Linked DNA regions of Homo sapiens: all the other regions are linked to region 1. The links are contacts of gene promoters, found by promoter capture Hi-C in blood cells and fetal thymus (Javierre and others, 2016). All regions are on one chromosome and are shown on one strand. The core of a region is centred on a gene start or on the middle of the fragment in contact, and the rest is flanking DNA. Distances in the headings are between cores, read along the strand shown. Region 1 holds the start of OSBPL8 (oxysterol binding protein like 8). Region 2 has its middle 5.4 kb from the start of GLIPR1L2. Region 3 holds the start of GLIPR1L1 (GLIPR1 like 1).

Region 1 (5,050 bases), core at 558-3,057:
CACCTGTGTACACGGTATTGCTGTTCAAACGGTTGACATGGAATGTGACCGCAATAACTTGATGTCCATAATTAAAGACCCAAAAGGTAGCTTAAGTTTCATCTATTTCCTTTCTCAGCCCTTTGAGCAGGTATATTATAGTCACTCCATACACGGTTAATATTAAAAAAAAATAAAAGTAACAAACATTTGAAATTAGTTGTACTTTTATAGAGAACAGTTTTAAATTGCATGGCCTTACTTTTCCTATTCCAACCTATTTTATAAAACTAGCATGATCTTAATAATTTCACTGCAAAACAGGTTCTAGCAAGCATAGAAACTGATCATAGCCTCTCAGCAAAATCAAGTTTAGATGAAACTCTAGGAAATTAGCAAAATTTAACAATCAATTCACCCACGATTCTCCACAATTCTTGCTCTCTCTAGATACGAAGGGAGGCAAAAACTGTTTTAAAGGATTATTTCAAAAGCAGCACTAATTTTGGGAAAAACTTAACTGCCATGCAGGAGACACTGTATTACTACTCAGACGTCATTTAAGTCTTCTAGCAGCAGAAAGGCAAAAACATCATTAAATTTTTTATTTAATGCATATATACTTACATTATCAGTTAAAGTTTACCCATCTGTTTACGTTGTCCAAGTTACCTATTATTTCAGAAAGCATTTAAATAAAATGAAATTAGGTTACGTTCTGCAACGCAGATGTGTCTCATAAAGAAGAGTGTTAAATGACTTTTGTGAATGGAAAATCTGCATATACTGTTGCTTCGCCTCAGCCAGTCTTGAGTGGGTGGTTCAATGAACCTAAAGCATGCTGCCTGTGAAGCTCCTTGGAACCTGATTCCACTCTTGAGAGAGGGCTTAGAAACAAACATTAAATTTAAAAGCACAGCAAAGGCTTGGCTTTCCTCCTACGTTACAAGAAGGCCGGGAGAACTGAGGCTTAGAGGAACAACACCGTGTCGCTTGGCTCTGCAAAGGCGGGTGCGGTCTGCGGTGCGCGGCACAGCCTTCTCTGGGGCTGTCACAGGAAAGAAGGAGCCTCGCCTTAACCGCACCGAGCGACAAAGCGCCAGCTCTCCTGGGCGCGGGGGCTCCCAACGAGGCCCATGCCATCAACCTATCAAACTTCAGGAGGGACAGACACCCGGGGCGGTCGAAATGCTCCAACAGCCTCCCACCCCCGTTCCCCTGCCGCGGCTTTTGTAAGGCTGCAGATGCACCTACTGTGGGCCCCTAAACACTCCACCCTGCCAGCCTTTCCAATCCCCCTACTCCAAAAGGGAACAAAGGAGCCAAAGAACTCCTCGGCGGGGGTGGCCAGGAGTCCCCGACAGCCCGAGCTCAGAACGTGGCAATAAGGGTGCGCAGTCGCCCTGAGGGGTGCGAACCCAGCACCCCAACCTCAGGAATGGAGCAACACTCACCCGTGCGGAGCTCCCAGGGAGGCGGGACGCAAGGAGCCGGTTCCTCCGAGGTCGCCGCGGCGCCGGGGTCCGAGGCCCCGTAAGCGTCTAGTCAGACCCCAACTTCTCTCGGCCGCTGTCGTCGGCGGCAGCTGGGGCGCGAGCCTGGACGAAGGGCGCTGCCCAGCGGCCGCGGAGGCACTGCCGGCTCAGCCCCCGAGCGGGGCGGGAACTTTCGGCCCCGAGGTCCACCAGCCCGGGCGGACCCCCACCTTCCCTCAGTCGGCTTGCTACCGGCAGCGGCTACTGCGGCGTCCAAAGCTAACACTACAGCCGCCGCCTGGCCAGGAGCGCGTCGCGGCCTAATGTTGTCATCCGCCGCGTCGCCGCCTTTCTGGGCACCCAGAACCGCGAAGATCCTTCACATTCTAGTGCCCTCCCCCTGCCCCGCCCGCCCCCCGGATCACGGGCTTCGGCCACGCCCTCTTCCCGTCACGTGACGGTGCGCGGAGGCGGTGGTGGAGTTGCTTCCCCTGCTAGGCGGGCTCGAACCGGGCGGGAGTCACTGTCCACCTTGCTTCGCCAGGGTGTTATCGCCAGCCAGTCCCCTTCCGCATGCCCAAGGGCAGCCTCAGGAAGCGAGCCCACCACCGTCGGCCCAGCGCCTGTTGATCGGCCAGGCCTTCTGGGCCGGTCATACTGGGCCCTTCCTAACCTGAGGAGATTGCACAGTAGGGCTCCCTGGTCTGGTCAGGGCTCAGTTAGGACCCCTCTCCAGCCTTAGGCTTGGTGAAAGCTTTAGCGAAACAGAAAAAAGAACGCATCGTGGTGTAGAGTGTATGGCCTAAGAAGCATTCGGTAACTAAACTACTTGTTCCTATTTCTAGTGGCACATTAACCGTGGCATTTAATTTACTGCTTTCCTCATTAGAGGTTTTTTTTTTTTTGAGGAAACGGTGTATTTCAATCATGCTGGGATGAAAACAGCCTAGCAAACTTATTTTTGTTCCTTGTTATGTTCAGGATCCTGCTGCCAGTTTTACAGTCATTAAGTTTTACAGTGTGTTAGGTTGGTGACAGTTTAAACGGGTACGCAGGAATTTGACAGTTTGTTCCATTTTTTAAAATAAAGCCTAATTCTTGATTTTTTTTCTAATGCCTTAATTTTTTTTTCCTAATTCCTTAACTCTAGGACTTAACCTTTTGCTTTCTTTTTTAGCCATGATCCGAAGAACCCTCTAGCCGCCTAATGAAATCCTAACTATACAGAAGTAAGGGAGGTAGAATAAAGATCATACTCAAACCCTGATCACAATGAAGGCAAATGAGAAAGCTTTCTGTAATAATTAAATTGGGGTCATAACTCATTTTCCCTTGTAGCCCAGAACTAAGGATTTTTTTCTTAAGCTATTCTCATCTCATTACATTTTCTTAACAAGAAATCAGAAGGCATTCTGATAAGCTGGATACATTGAAATGAATAAGCAATAGAGTTTGGCCTATATAATTATTATTAATATATTTCATAGCAGCTCTAAAAAAATCATAGACTTACATTGTTTTATGTTACCCAAGAAAGAAAACAAAGGCTGCCAATGAAACTATGCCATACCGCTGATATGTAAGGCACCTTTAAGCCACATCTTTTTCCTTTTTTTTTTGAGACAGGGTCTCACTCTGTCTCCCAGACTGGAGTGCAGAGGCGCAATCTCGGCCCACTGCAATTTCCGCCTCCCGGTTCAAGCGATTCTCCTCCCTTAGCCTCCCAAGGAGCTGAGATTACAGGCATGCGCCACCATGCCCAGCTAATTTTTGTATTTTTAGTAGAGAGGAGGTTTCACCATTTTGGCAAGGCTGGTGTTGAACTCGTGACCTCAAATGATTCACCCGCCTCGACCTCCCAAAATGCTGGGATTACAGGCATGAGCCACCGCGCCCGGCCTGAGACACATCTTGAATTCAGAGATGTAAACATGTCAGAAACAACGAGTCTTAGAATCTCTGAGATATTGTCATGAACTGGGAAACAACGAGTCTTAGAATCTCTGAGATATTGTCATGAACTGGGAAACAACGAGTCTTAGAATCTCTGAGATATTGTCATGAACTGGTGTTCCAAAGAGGAAAAGATTCTACCAGGTTCTGTTCTGAAGCCTGAGAGACTGTAGTACAAATAAATGTGAAGGAAGTTTATTATTCTGTGACATTATTTCAGCAAAGCTAGTAACTTTGGAGTTTGTTAACAGATTAACTTGTCTCCTGTTTTCTAGAGGCATGTTTTTCAACCTGCAACTCAAAAATCAATTTCATTTTTATATGAAATAGGCTAGGATGTAATACAATATAAAATACCAGAGTGCATAATGTCTAGTAAGGGCAAAAATTGCTTCCTGAAACTTTTTGTTTCAAATATGGTGGAAGGTGAGAGTATGTCCTATGTTGTGATTTAAACAATTTCTTACTGTGAGTTGCAATCAAATAGATTTGGAAAAGAATGTTCCTAGAGCATAGATAATATGCAAAATACACCATCTGGACCCCGTTTTTCTGGTACTTTTATTTTACTTTGGAAACTGAGACTAAAGATTAGAAAAAGGTGGCAAATTGCCTTGCCTAATTCTCTTCTGCCTCAGCCCCAATTTCATACATTGGCTTTTGAAAATTTGATCATTTGTTGGAAAAAGCAATGTACTGGAAGCAAGGAAGCCTAGGTTACAGACTTAGCTAATGAGATGTATGACTAGATAAATTACTCCCTGCATTTCAAGTTCCAATCAAGTAGGACCACATGCTGTTTGAGAAATGATACTAAACCACCTTTTTTTTTTCCCGGTGGATGGCAATCACATTGGAAACAAACAGACACGGTATACTCAGGATTATGCAAATTACTGACAGCCTACGTTTAACTTCTTTCAGCTCCACTCAAAAAAAAGAAAGTCCTAATGCAAGTAATTGAAAGTGAAGATATTGCAAAACAAATGTAAGTATATCTTTCACAATCTTCTCTACTTTGATTATCACTAGTATAATAGTTACTTGTCATGAATAACTAATGATTTTGACATACTTAACAACTGATTGCAACACAAAAATATATTAATCCACTACAGTTGAAAAATCATTTTTTCAGATCCTTTCAAATCTGATATTGTGATTCCAGGAATGATAATTCAATCTAGCATTTTCAATGTAATGACAACATAAACAGAAACTAATATGTGATCCTGCACTGTAACTGAAAAATATTCAGTAACTCCCAGAGATGCCCTGCAAGTTTGCTACTCTTACAATGATTTTAAGAATGACATTTTGAAATAAAGCTTTTTTATTATAACGATCCGATTTTAACTCCAATGAGAATTCATCTCTTTTGCCTACTGCTTTATTAATTATACATTTCTAAGAATGGGAAGTTCTTTCCAAATTAGTTTAAGCACTGACAGGCTTGACAGCCTTTCCCACAGTATATTTCAACCCTGACCTAGAATGACAGAGATGTTGCTTGAGGTTGTTTGCTTTTTTCCATTTGGCTTATCCCATTAGACAATTATGTTGCTGACAATTACTAATCAGGATTCTAGACTAAAATCCTCATTTTCTGGAAGAGAATTTAGATTAAGAGCAACCTCAGCCAT
Region 2 (4,956 bases), core at 476-2,975, 1.2 Mb before region 1:
AATATAATGCATTAAAATTTTTTTATATGAAGTATATAATGGGAGCTGATTCACTGACAGATACGAAAGATTGAATATTTGCAGAACATTGTCAGCAAACCCCACTTCTTTCTACAGAAACCAAATGAGATGCTTTTGTGTGTCCTTCCATACTCCTATCTTAGTCACCTGGGCTTAAAATCTAGCTTTACAACACTAATCAAAAGAAACCAAGATAGCTATATTAATTTTGGCTGCAGCCAACTTCAAAACAAGGAAAGTTATCAGGATTAAACAGAGGCATTACATAATAATAAAGGGGTTAATTCTCCAAGAAGACATTACAATCCTTAATGTATATGCACCTAACAAGAGAGTGTAGAAATATATGAGACAAAACTGATAGAATGACAAGAAGAAATAGACGAATCTACTATTATAGTTGGAGACTTCAAAACACCTCTATCTGAAATGTATAGATTCAGCAGGCAGAAAATCAGTAAGGACATAGTTAAACTCAACAACAACATCAATCACCTGGATGTAATAAGACGTCTATACATTATTCGACAATAGCAGAATATATATTCTCGAGCTCATATGAAACATTTACCAAAATAAACTATATTCTGGACCATAAAACACACCTTAACAAATTTAGAATAGAAATCATGTAATGCCTGCTCTCAGACCACTAGTAATTGAACTAGAAATCAGTAACAGAATGATAACCATAAAATTCCAAAATAAGAGATTAAATGGCACACTTCTAAATAACACATGGTCCAAAGAAAAAATCTCAAAAGAAATTTGAAAATATTTTTAAATAAATGAAGATGAAAACAACTTGGCAAAATTTGTGGGATGCAGCAAAGCATTGCTTAGAGGTAAATTTGTAGCATTGAATAAATATATTAGAAAAGAAGAAAGATCTAAAATCGCATATGCTTTCACTGTTAGAAACTAGAAAAAAAAGAGCAAATTAAACCCAAAGTAAGCAGAAGAAATAATAAAAATTTGAACAGAAATCAATAAAATTGAAAACAAAATTAATAGAGAAAATTAATAAAATCAAAAGCTGGTTTTTTAAGGCATAAATAAGATTGATAAGCTTCTAGCCAAGCTAACAGGAAAAGGGAAAAGACATAAATTATCAATATCAGAGATGAAGGAAGGAACATCACTACAGATCTGATAAACATTAAAAGGATAACTGAGCAACACTGTGAACAACTCCACACCCACAAACTTAATAATCTAGATGAACGGGCCACTTCCTTGAAAGACACATCTCTCACAACTCATGCAAGAAGAAATAGACAATCTGAAGAGGCCTATTCCTATTTAAGAAATTTAATTGATAACTAATAACCTTCCAAAACAGAAAGCACCAGGCCCAGATAAATTCACTGGTGAATTCTACCAAAAATTTAAAGAAAAAAGTGATCGATTCTGTATAATGTCTTTCAGAAGATAAAAGCAAACAGAATACTTCTTAACTCATTCTATGAGGCCAGCATTACCCTAATACCAAAATCCTGCAAAAACATTACAAGAAAAAAAATACTACAGACCAACGTCTCTCATGAACATAGATGCAAAATTCCCCAACAAGATACTAAGCAAATTGAATTCAACAACGTATAAAAATAATTATATTACATGATGGAGTGGAATTTATTCCAGATTGCTCTGGTCTAAATATTTTCCCCTCCAAATTCATGTTAAAATTTAATTTCCATTGAGGCAGTATTGAAAGGTGGGGCTTTAAAAAGATTATTGGGTTATGAGGGCTCTGCCCTCATGAATGAACCAATACATTCATAGATTAATGGATTAATAGGATAATAAGTTAATGGATTAATGGGTTATCACAGGAGTGAGACTAAAGGGCTTAGTAAAAAGGGGAAGAGGGACCAGAGCTAGCATGCCCAACCTTCTTGCCATATGATGCCCTGCACTGCTTCAGGACTTTGCAGAGAGTTCTCAACAGCAAGAAGGTATTTCACCAAACGCAGCCCCTCAACCTTATGTTCTCAGCCTCCATAACTGTAAGAAATAAATTATTTTTCTTTATAAATTACCCAGTTTCAAGTATTCTGTTATAAGCATCAGAAAATGAACTAAGACATAGGTATACAAGCCTGGTTCAATTTGCAAATCAACTAATGTAATAAATCACATCAATAGGCTAAAGAAGAAAAATCATATGATTATATCCATAGATGCAGGAAGAGCACTGGACAAAATCCAGTATGAACTCATAATAAAAATTCTCAATAAACTAGGAATAGTAGGAAACTTCCCTGAGATATTGATAAAGATATCAATATTTACAAAAAAAAGCTATAGCTAACTGCATACTTAATGATGAGAAACAGGAAGCTTTCTCACTAAGATCAGGAACAAGGCACAGATGCCCCTCTCATCACTGCTCTTCAACTTCATACTGGAAATCCTTGCTAATACAATAAGACAAGAAAATAAAAGGTTTATAGATTGAGAAGAAATAAAAATGTCTTTGTTTGCCGATGACATAATTATTTATGTACAAAATCCAAAGAATCAACAAACTCCTGAAACTAATCAATGATTTTAGCAAGGTTGCAGGATACGAGGTTAATATAGAAAAGTCAGTTACTTTAAATTGCTTTCCTATATACTAGCCATGAACAAGTAGAATTTAAAATTGGAAACATAATAGCGTTTAGCACACACAAACAAATACTTAGTCATAAATCTAACAAAATATTTACAAGATCTGTATGAGGAACACTACAAAAGTATGATAAAATAAATCAAAGAACTGAATAAATGAAGAAATATTCCTTGTTCATAAATAGAATGAAGAAGGAATTTGTTCATTCTATTTCCTTGTTCATAAATATTCCTTGTTCATAATAGAATGAACAAGGAATTTGTTAGGATATCAGTAATTCCCAATTTGATCTATTGATTTAATGTAACCCCAATCAAAATTTCAGCAAGTTAATTTGTGGAGACTGACAAAATTATTCTAAAGTTTATATGAAGAGGCAAAAAAACCCTGAACAGCCAATACATTGGATGAGAAGAACAAGGTTGCAGGACTAACACTACGTGACATTAAGACTTACTATAAGGGTACGTGTCTCAGTCTGTTTTGTGCTGCTATCACAGAATATCTGATATTTGGTAATTTATTTTAAAAAAAGATCAATTTCTTACAGTTCTGGAGGCTAGAAAGTCCAAGGTTGAGGAGCTTGCATCTGGTGAGGGCCTGCTGGCTGTGTCATCTGATGGCAGGAGTTCACAGAGGAAGAGAGTGCATGCACATGTGCAAAAGAAGGGAGCTGAACTCACTCTTTTATCAGGAACTCACTCCCTCAATATTTTACCAATCCTGTGATAATGGCATTAATACAATTCATGAGGACAGGGCTCTCATGACCCAATCACCTCTTAAAGATCCCACCCCTCAATGCTGTTGTATTGGGGATTAATTTTCCAGCATATGAATTTAGGGGGACATATTCAAACAATAGCAAAAATACAATAATTTAAAAGGTATAGTATTGGTGAAAGTAGAAATAAATCCATGGAACAGAATAGAGAGCTGAGAAATAGAACAGCATAAATAAAGTCAACTGATCTTTGACAAAGGAGCAAAGGCAATATAATGGAGAAATGTAGTCTTTTCAACAAATGGTTCTGGAACAACTGAACGTCCATATACAAGAAAAAAAAACCAGTCTAAGCACAAACTTTATACCCTTCACAAAAATTAATCAAAATGGATCACAGACCTAAATGTAAATACAAAAGTATAAACTCCCAGAAGGTTATATAAGAGAAAATCTAGATGATCTTTAATTTGGCAATAACCTTTTAGATACAACACAAAAGGTATGATTTATGAAAGAACAAATCGATAAGCTGGGTGCCATTAAAACTAAAAATTTCTACTCAGCAAAAGACATTCTCAAGAGAATGAAAAAACAAGCCATGGCCTGGGAGAAAAATACTTACAGAAGATATATGCAATAAAAACTATTACGCACAATATGCAAAGACTCTTTAAACTCAACAATCGAAAAACAAACAGTTTAATTTAAAAATGGGTCAAAAACCTTAATGGACACCTCACCAAAGAAGACATACAGTACTCAAATAAGCATATGAAAAGGTGCATCATATGTCACCAGGAAAACGCACATTAAAATACCAATGAAATACCACTACACACCTTTTAGAATGGCCAAAATCCAGAACACTGGCAACACCAAATGCTGACAAGGATGTGGAGGAACATGAGCTCTCATTCACTGCTGGTGGGAATGCAAAATGGCACAGCCACTTTGGAACATAGTTTAGCAGTTTCTTAAAAAACTGAACATTATGCTTACTGCCATAGTCTGTTTAATGTTGCTCATAAGAAAATACCTGAAACTGAGTAAGTTATAAAGAAAAGGAATTGACTTCTTAGAATTATGGAGGCTGAGAATTTCAAAGTCAAGGGGCCATATCTGGTGTGGCCCTTCTTGCTACTGGGGACTCTGCAGAATCCCAAGGCAGCACAGAGTATCACATGGTAAAGGGGCTAAACTAATCCATTAACCCATTAATCTACGAATGGATCAATACATTCATGAGGACAGACCCAATCACTTCTTAAAGGCTCCACCTTTCAATACTGTTACATTGGGGATTAAGTTTCAACATGAATTTTGAAAGGGACAAATATCCAAACAATAGCATTTACTATAACATATAGTTATGATCCAGCAATCATGCTCATGGTATTTATCCAAAGGAGTTGAAAACTTATGTCTACACAGAAACCTGCACAAAGATGTTTATAACAACTGTATTCACATTTGCAAATTGATATGGTTTGGCTCTGTGTCCCCACCCAAATCTTACCCTGAATTGTAATAATCCCCACGTGTCATGGGAGAGACTAGGTGAGAGGTAACTGAATCATGGGGGCAGGTTTTT
Region 3 (5,063 bases), core at 2,125-4,624, 1.2 Mb before region 1:
TCTGCAGTAACTTTTCAAAATTAGCTCCCCTCAGAATGTATGTATCAAAACGTGAATATTTCCAGTATTTCCTGGTGCAAATTTGGGAGTAAAAATACAAATAAATTTTTAAAGTATAAAAATAGTGAAGGAAATGAGGTATAATGTAATCACTCTGTATTTTTCTGCTGCACTCCATAAAATTCATCTATCCATTACCCCCACATAGAAAGAAAAGCAAAAATAAATAGCAGAAAACACACATAAAAATAAAACAGAAAGCTAAATTTAACTTTTTTTTTTTTTTGAGACGGAGTCTCGCTCTGTCGCCCAGGCTGGAGTGCAGTGGCGGGATCTCGGCTCACTGCAAGCTCCGCCTCCCGGGTTCACGCCATTCTCCTGCCTCAGCCTCCCAAGTAGCTGGGACTACAGGCGCCCGCCACTACGCCCGGCTAATTTTTTGTATTTTTAGTAGAGACAGGGTTTCACCGTTTTAGCCGGGATGGTCTCGATCTCCTGACCTCGTGATCCGCCCCCCTCGGCCTCCCAAAGTGCTGGGATTACAGGCGTGAGCCACCGCGCCCGGCCTAAATTTAACTTTTAAAAAGTTATAAAAGAACTTAAAAATTCTGGTGCACCAACTAACCTTGGCCATTCCAGAAATAGATGTTCAAGAAAATAACATTAGGACATGCACTTGTTGATTCCTGGCAATTAGACTTTTTACACCTAAATTGTTTTAGTATTTCTGAATATAGCTGTCTAAGCCATTGGGAACATGATCTAAAAAACATAATGTATACAATTCAGACATTTTATTAAAAACGTCTCTTAGAAGAGCAATAATCTTGGATTATGTTTGACTATATATACTCTACTTTTGCCAATCTTTAAATTCATTACTCTATGAAATTTCTGTTGTTGTTACAGGCAGTTAATTTCTCTATACACTAAATGAAACTAAATTAGCTATCTGTTAACCTTTATCCCTATTAACCTTATCCCTATCAACCTTTACTGTTTTGCAGTTCCAAAAGAGTTTGCATTTGAAGCTCAACTTTAAATTTTCATTTACTTGATCATTCATTAATGCAGCCAACATTCACTGAGTACCTACTACTTGAAAATATTTTACTTTATCTTTGTATTTATTTGTTCATTCAGCCACTTATGTATTTGACAAACATCCACTGAACACCTTCTATCTTCAAATATACCCAGTGTTAGAAAAAGTGAAATATATAAGCTTACCCAGCATTTCCTTTTATGTGATTAAGTCAAAAATATTTATTGAGCCCCTCATATGTATATATACATATATATAACAATTAAAATATAGTTTCTGCTCTCAAGAAGCTTACAGTTGTATACAACATTATTAGAAAGTTAAAGAGAACTCATTTATTTATTCGACCAATTTTTATTGAGAGCCTAAAGATTCAGTTCCTGTTCAAGGTGCTAGAGATGTAGCAATGAAGAAAACAAAGCTACTGTTGTGGTGAAGGCTACAATCTGATAGAGAAGGCAGATGTTAAAAAAATAAATAACATAAATTCAGGAGGTAATTAATGCAATGAAGAAAAATAAAACAGGTTAAATGGATAGGCACTGACAGACAGGGGATATAGAATGATCAGGGAAGACTTCACTGAAGGGAACTCTATAAAGAGCACTGCAGGCAAAAGTAACAGCAAGTGCAAAGATGCTGAGGAGAGAGCATCCTTATCAAGCTGATGGATGTGGCTGATGCAGAATAAGCCAGGAGAGAATGCCAGAGAACTAGCCATGGTCAGATTATGTAGTGTCTTTTGGGCCATACCTAGGACTTCAGATTTTTTATTGTAGCCCCCCACTGTAATGTGAGCCAATTCCTTAAAAGTTCTCTTTCTCTTTGTATACAAACATATGTATATGTATATATGCCTATAGACATCTGTATCTCTCTCTGTGTAGATGTATATATGTCTATAGGCAGACACACACACATATATGTGTATACAAACAGATTTATACATAGAGAGAACTTTACATATATAAATGTATGTGTGTATATGTATGTGTGTATATGCCTATAGATATCTTTATATCCAGGAAGAGACATATATATATAGACACATGTAGATGTATATAACTGTATTGATTTATCTATCTGTATACCTACACACACACATATACACACACACACACACGTATATATGTTCATGTCTTTGGGTGTGGGATATCAGAAGCTCAGTTTGGACTATGTATGTGATATGAAAGTAGTATATACAGCAATTCTCCATTAGCTGGTAGTAGACTAGAAATATATTATCTATTGCCCAGTAGAATTTCCATTAGGATCCTTGCATTTTTCGTTTTCTTATAATCTAATTTTCTGCTTTTTATTTTTAAAAAGATAGTAGCTGCATCAAAGTAGTTTGTTTTGGTTTTTGTTTTTTGTGTCAAGGTTGACTATGGCGGATCATTCAGCAGATGTAAGTACGTGTTCACTTGAATTAAACAGCATTGTAAACAACTTCAAATTACTAAGTAAAGGTATTTATTTGAAACATAGAAATACTAAAAAAAATTAATGTCATGGGGAAAAATGCTGGTTTATTACAGAATATCAATATAACTGATGTAATGAATTTAAAACATTAAGCCAAATGACGTTGATTTATATTGCATTGCAGGTAAAATAGACAATCAAATGTACTCTGTCCATCCCAGTCTCAGTGTATCAATTAAAGCAACTCTTGGAGTCTACCAGTCACCATACAGTGGCTCTGTTCCAAACTATCAAAAAGGGAAGATTTTGTCAAGAGGAACTACTTGGCTACATTTTCCAAGCATCTATTGTTATCTATCTAAGCATTCGGTCTCTTCAGACGAAAAAACAGAAGGAAATTATTAAATGTTTGACAAGTTGATAATTTAGGATCACTGTATGTCACTGTATAAGAATTGCCTATTCTTACTCTATTCCCAATCTCTGAGGGAAGTGGCAATATGATTCTAGATTATTTAGAACAATAAAAATCTATACACGGAAGCTGCGTCTAAGAAACGAATATATAGTGCTTTGCACTCGACTGGCCCATTGTCAGCATCCCGCACTTGTTCTTTACCTAACTTGTGTGGCTTGCATATTGCAATCTGTATTACAATCCAGACGCGCTCTGCAGATTACAGATTGGATCCACAGAAAGCAGTTTGGATGGTTGAAATTCCCTCCACCAGAGGGCGACTCAGAGCTTTCCCCTGTAGCTCAGAGCTTTGTGGAAGGGGAACCCTGCTGCCTGTTCTTCCCCACAGCGACACTGACAAGTTGATCCAGCCGCGCTGGGCTCGAGCCTGTGCGGCAGGATGGAGCCAAGGGAGAGCGTGGTGCGGGGGCGTGGGGAAATCGGGTTGCCCCAGCCGTTACTGGTCCGCGCAGTCAGGGCATCCTCCGCATCCTCCACATCCTTCCATGGCTCTGAAGAATAAATTCAGTTGTTTATGGATCTTGGGTCTGTGTTTGGTAGCCACTACATCTTCCAAAATCCCATCCATCACTGACCCACACTTTATAGACAACTGCATAGAAGCCCACAACGAATGGCGTGGCAAAGTCAACCCTCCCGCGGCCGACATGAAATACATGGTGAGAAAGAACCAGGGCTGGGCTCTTAAATCCCTGACTCATCCTGAGGTATCTGGGTGATAAATTTCACGGACTTAACTTGTACTAATTCAATCCGGACTTTACATATATGCAGTTAAAAAGAAAAAAATTCACACCTTGGTTGGGCTGTCTCCTCCAGAGTCATAGGAGTGAACAAGAAAGGAAGACTTGAAGCTGTTCCTTGCCTCTTGCGGGGAAGGTGGGGATGCTGGAGCAGTGTTTGGAAGTTGCTTTGTTGCACCACTAAAGTTATAAGTACTGAACACAGGATTATTTTGTTTTCTTTCTTCCATTTTTTAGCTAGCAATTTCCACCCCCCACAACCAAGATACAAGATACCAAAGAAATAGCCCAGGAATGGAGATTCTCTTGTTCTCTTACTTATTTTTATATCATATGAATCCAAGATCAAAACAACACTTCATGTGTAGTATTATTTGAAAAAAATACAGTACTCTATTGAAGAATAAGCATAAAAAGCATTGGATTATTAAATAATCCATAGAATTTACAAAATTTTAAATACTTGACTATGAATTGTATGATTGGAAATTTCCCTTGCATTGTAACTTTTTCTTGTTTATAAATGCATCACTATGAGCATAAACGTTGATAGTATTAGTCTATTTTATGTGCTATGCAGATGTAGATACAGTATAACTCATATCTATTCCAGCTTTCTTCTTTTCTATCCAGTGGAAAACAAAAGTAATTATAAAATCACAACTCAGGCATTAAAATAAGTTCAAAACTGTACTAGTCTACTGTATAAGAAAATTATATTTTGATGGAGAAAGATTCAAATATGTATCAGAAATGAAACAAGAATAAACTAATCTCTTTAATGCAGAATTGTTAAGATATTTTAATATATAATGTTTACCAGCTTGGGGTTGTCCAAGGCATAAATTAACTAGAAATAAATCTTCAACGGAATTCAGAAATACTAATATTAGTATTAATATGGTTGATGCCTTTAGAGTTTTATTGTAAATGTATGATAAAAAAGAGTAAATGTGGGGTTAAATATAATAAATGTTCTTTATATTTCTTTTGTACTCATTGACTATTTAAAGCAAAATATGATAACAATGAATTGTGGAGTTTATAATAATGTAGAAACTAAACACATTATAACCAATGCATAAAAAATGAAGTGAAGTGTCAATAGAATTATTCTGCTGAAAGTTCCTTATATTGTTAAGAATCACAATAATATTTCTGGATGGACCGTGAGAAGTTAAGAATGCATATTTTAATATCTAGGATAACCATTAAAAATATACAAAGAAGTAGAGCTAAAAATCCAGTAAGTAGAATACTAAAGTCCTTGATTAATTTTTGGAAAACAGGAACAAGGAACAAAAGAACAAAGAGGGAATCATTTAAAAATAGCAAATGGTAGACTAAAACTTAACCATGTTAAAATTACATT

The links. Contacts are between HindIII fragments. The CHiCAGO score rates a contact against its expected background, and 5 or more counts as called.
Region 2: a fragment that was not itself captured here is called in contact with the fragment with the promoter of OSBPL8 in region 1 in 2 of 17 cell types (total B cells and total CD8 T cells); the score reaches 6.3 in total B cells.
Region 3: the fragment with the promoter of GLIPR1L1 here is called in contact with the fragment with the promoter of OSBPL8 in region 1 in 5 of 17 cell types (total B cells, naive CD4 T cells, naive CD8 T cells and 2 more); the score reaches 9.2 in total B cells.

The regions. Positions count from the first base shown.
Region 1 is chr12:76,557,964-76,563,013 of GRCh38, forward strand. It overlaps OSBPL8 (oxysterol binding protein like 8), which reads right to left and starts at 1,808. Exons shown (of 24, transcript NM_020841.5): 1 at 1,434-1,808. It overlaps LOC105369850 (a long non-coding RNA gene), which reads left to right and starts at 1,939. Exons shown (of 4, transcript NR_188081.1): 1 at 1,939-2,270; 2 at 4,332-4,395. RefSeq lists an enhancer at 729-1,038 and a silencer at 1,449-1,638. The HindIII fragment of the contact is 3,809 bases long and covers 1-2,206 here.
Region 2 is chr12:75,383,165-75,388,120 of GRCh38, forward strand. It overlaps a transcript of CAPS2 not described here. Among named protein-coding and RNA genes, the nearest start is that of GLIPR1L2, 5.4 kb to the right of the region's middle. The HindIII fragment of the contact is 1,274 bases long and covers 1,089-2,362 here.
Region 3 is chr12:75,331,296-75,336,358 of GRCh38, forward strand. GLIPR1L1 (GLIPR1 like 1) reads left to right here and starts at 3,375. Exons shown (of 6, transcript NM_001304964.2): 1 at 3,375-3,607. The coding sequence starts at 3,434. It also overlaps a transcript of CAPS2 not described here. RefSeq lists a silencer at 3,112-3,221. The HindIII fragment of the contact is 15,549 bases long and covers 1,334-5,063 here.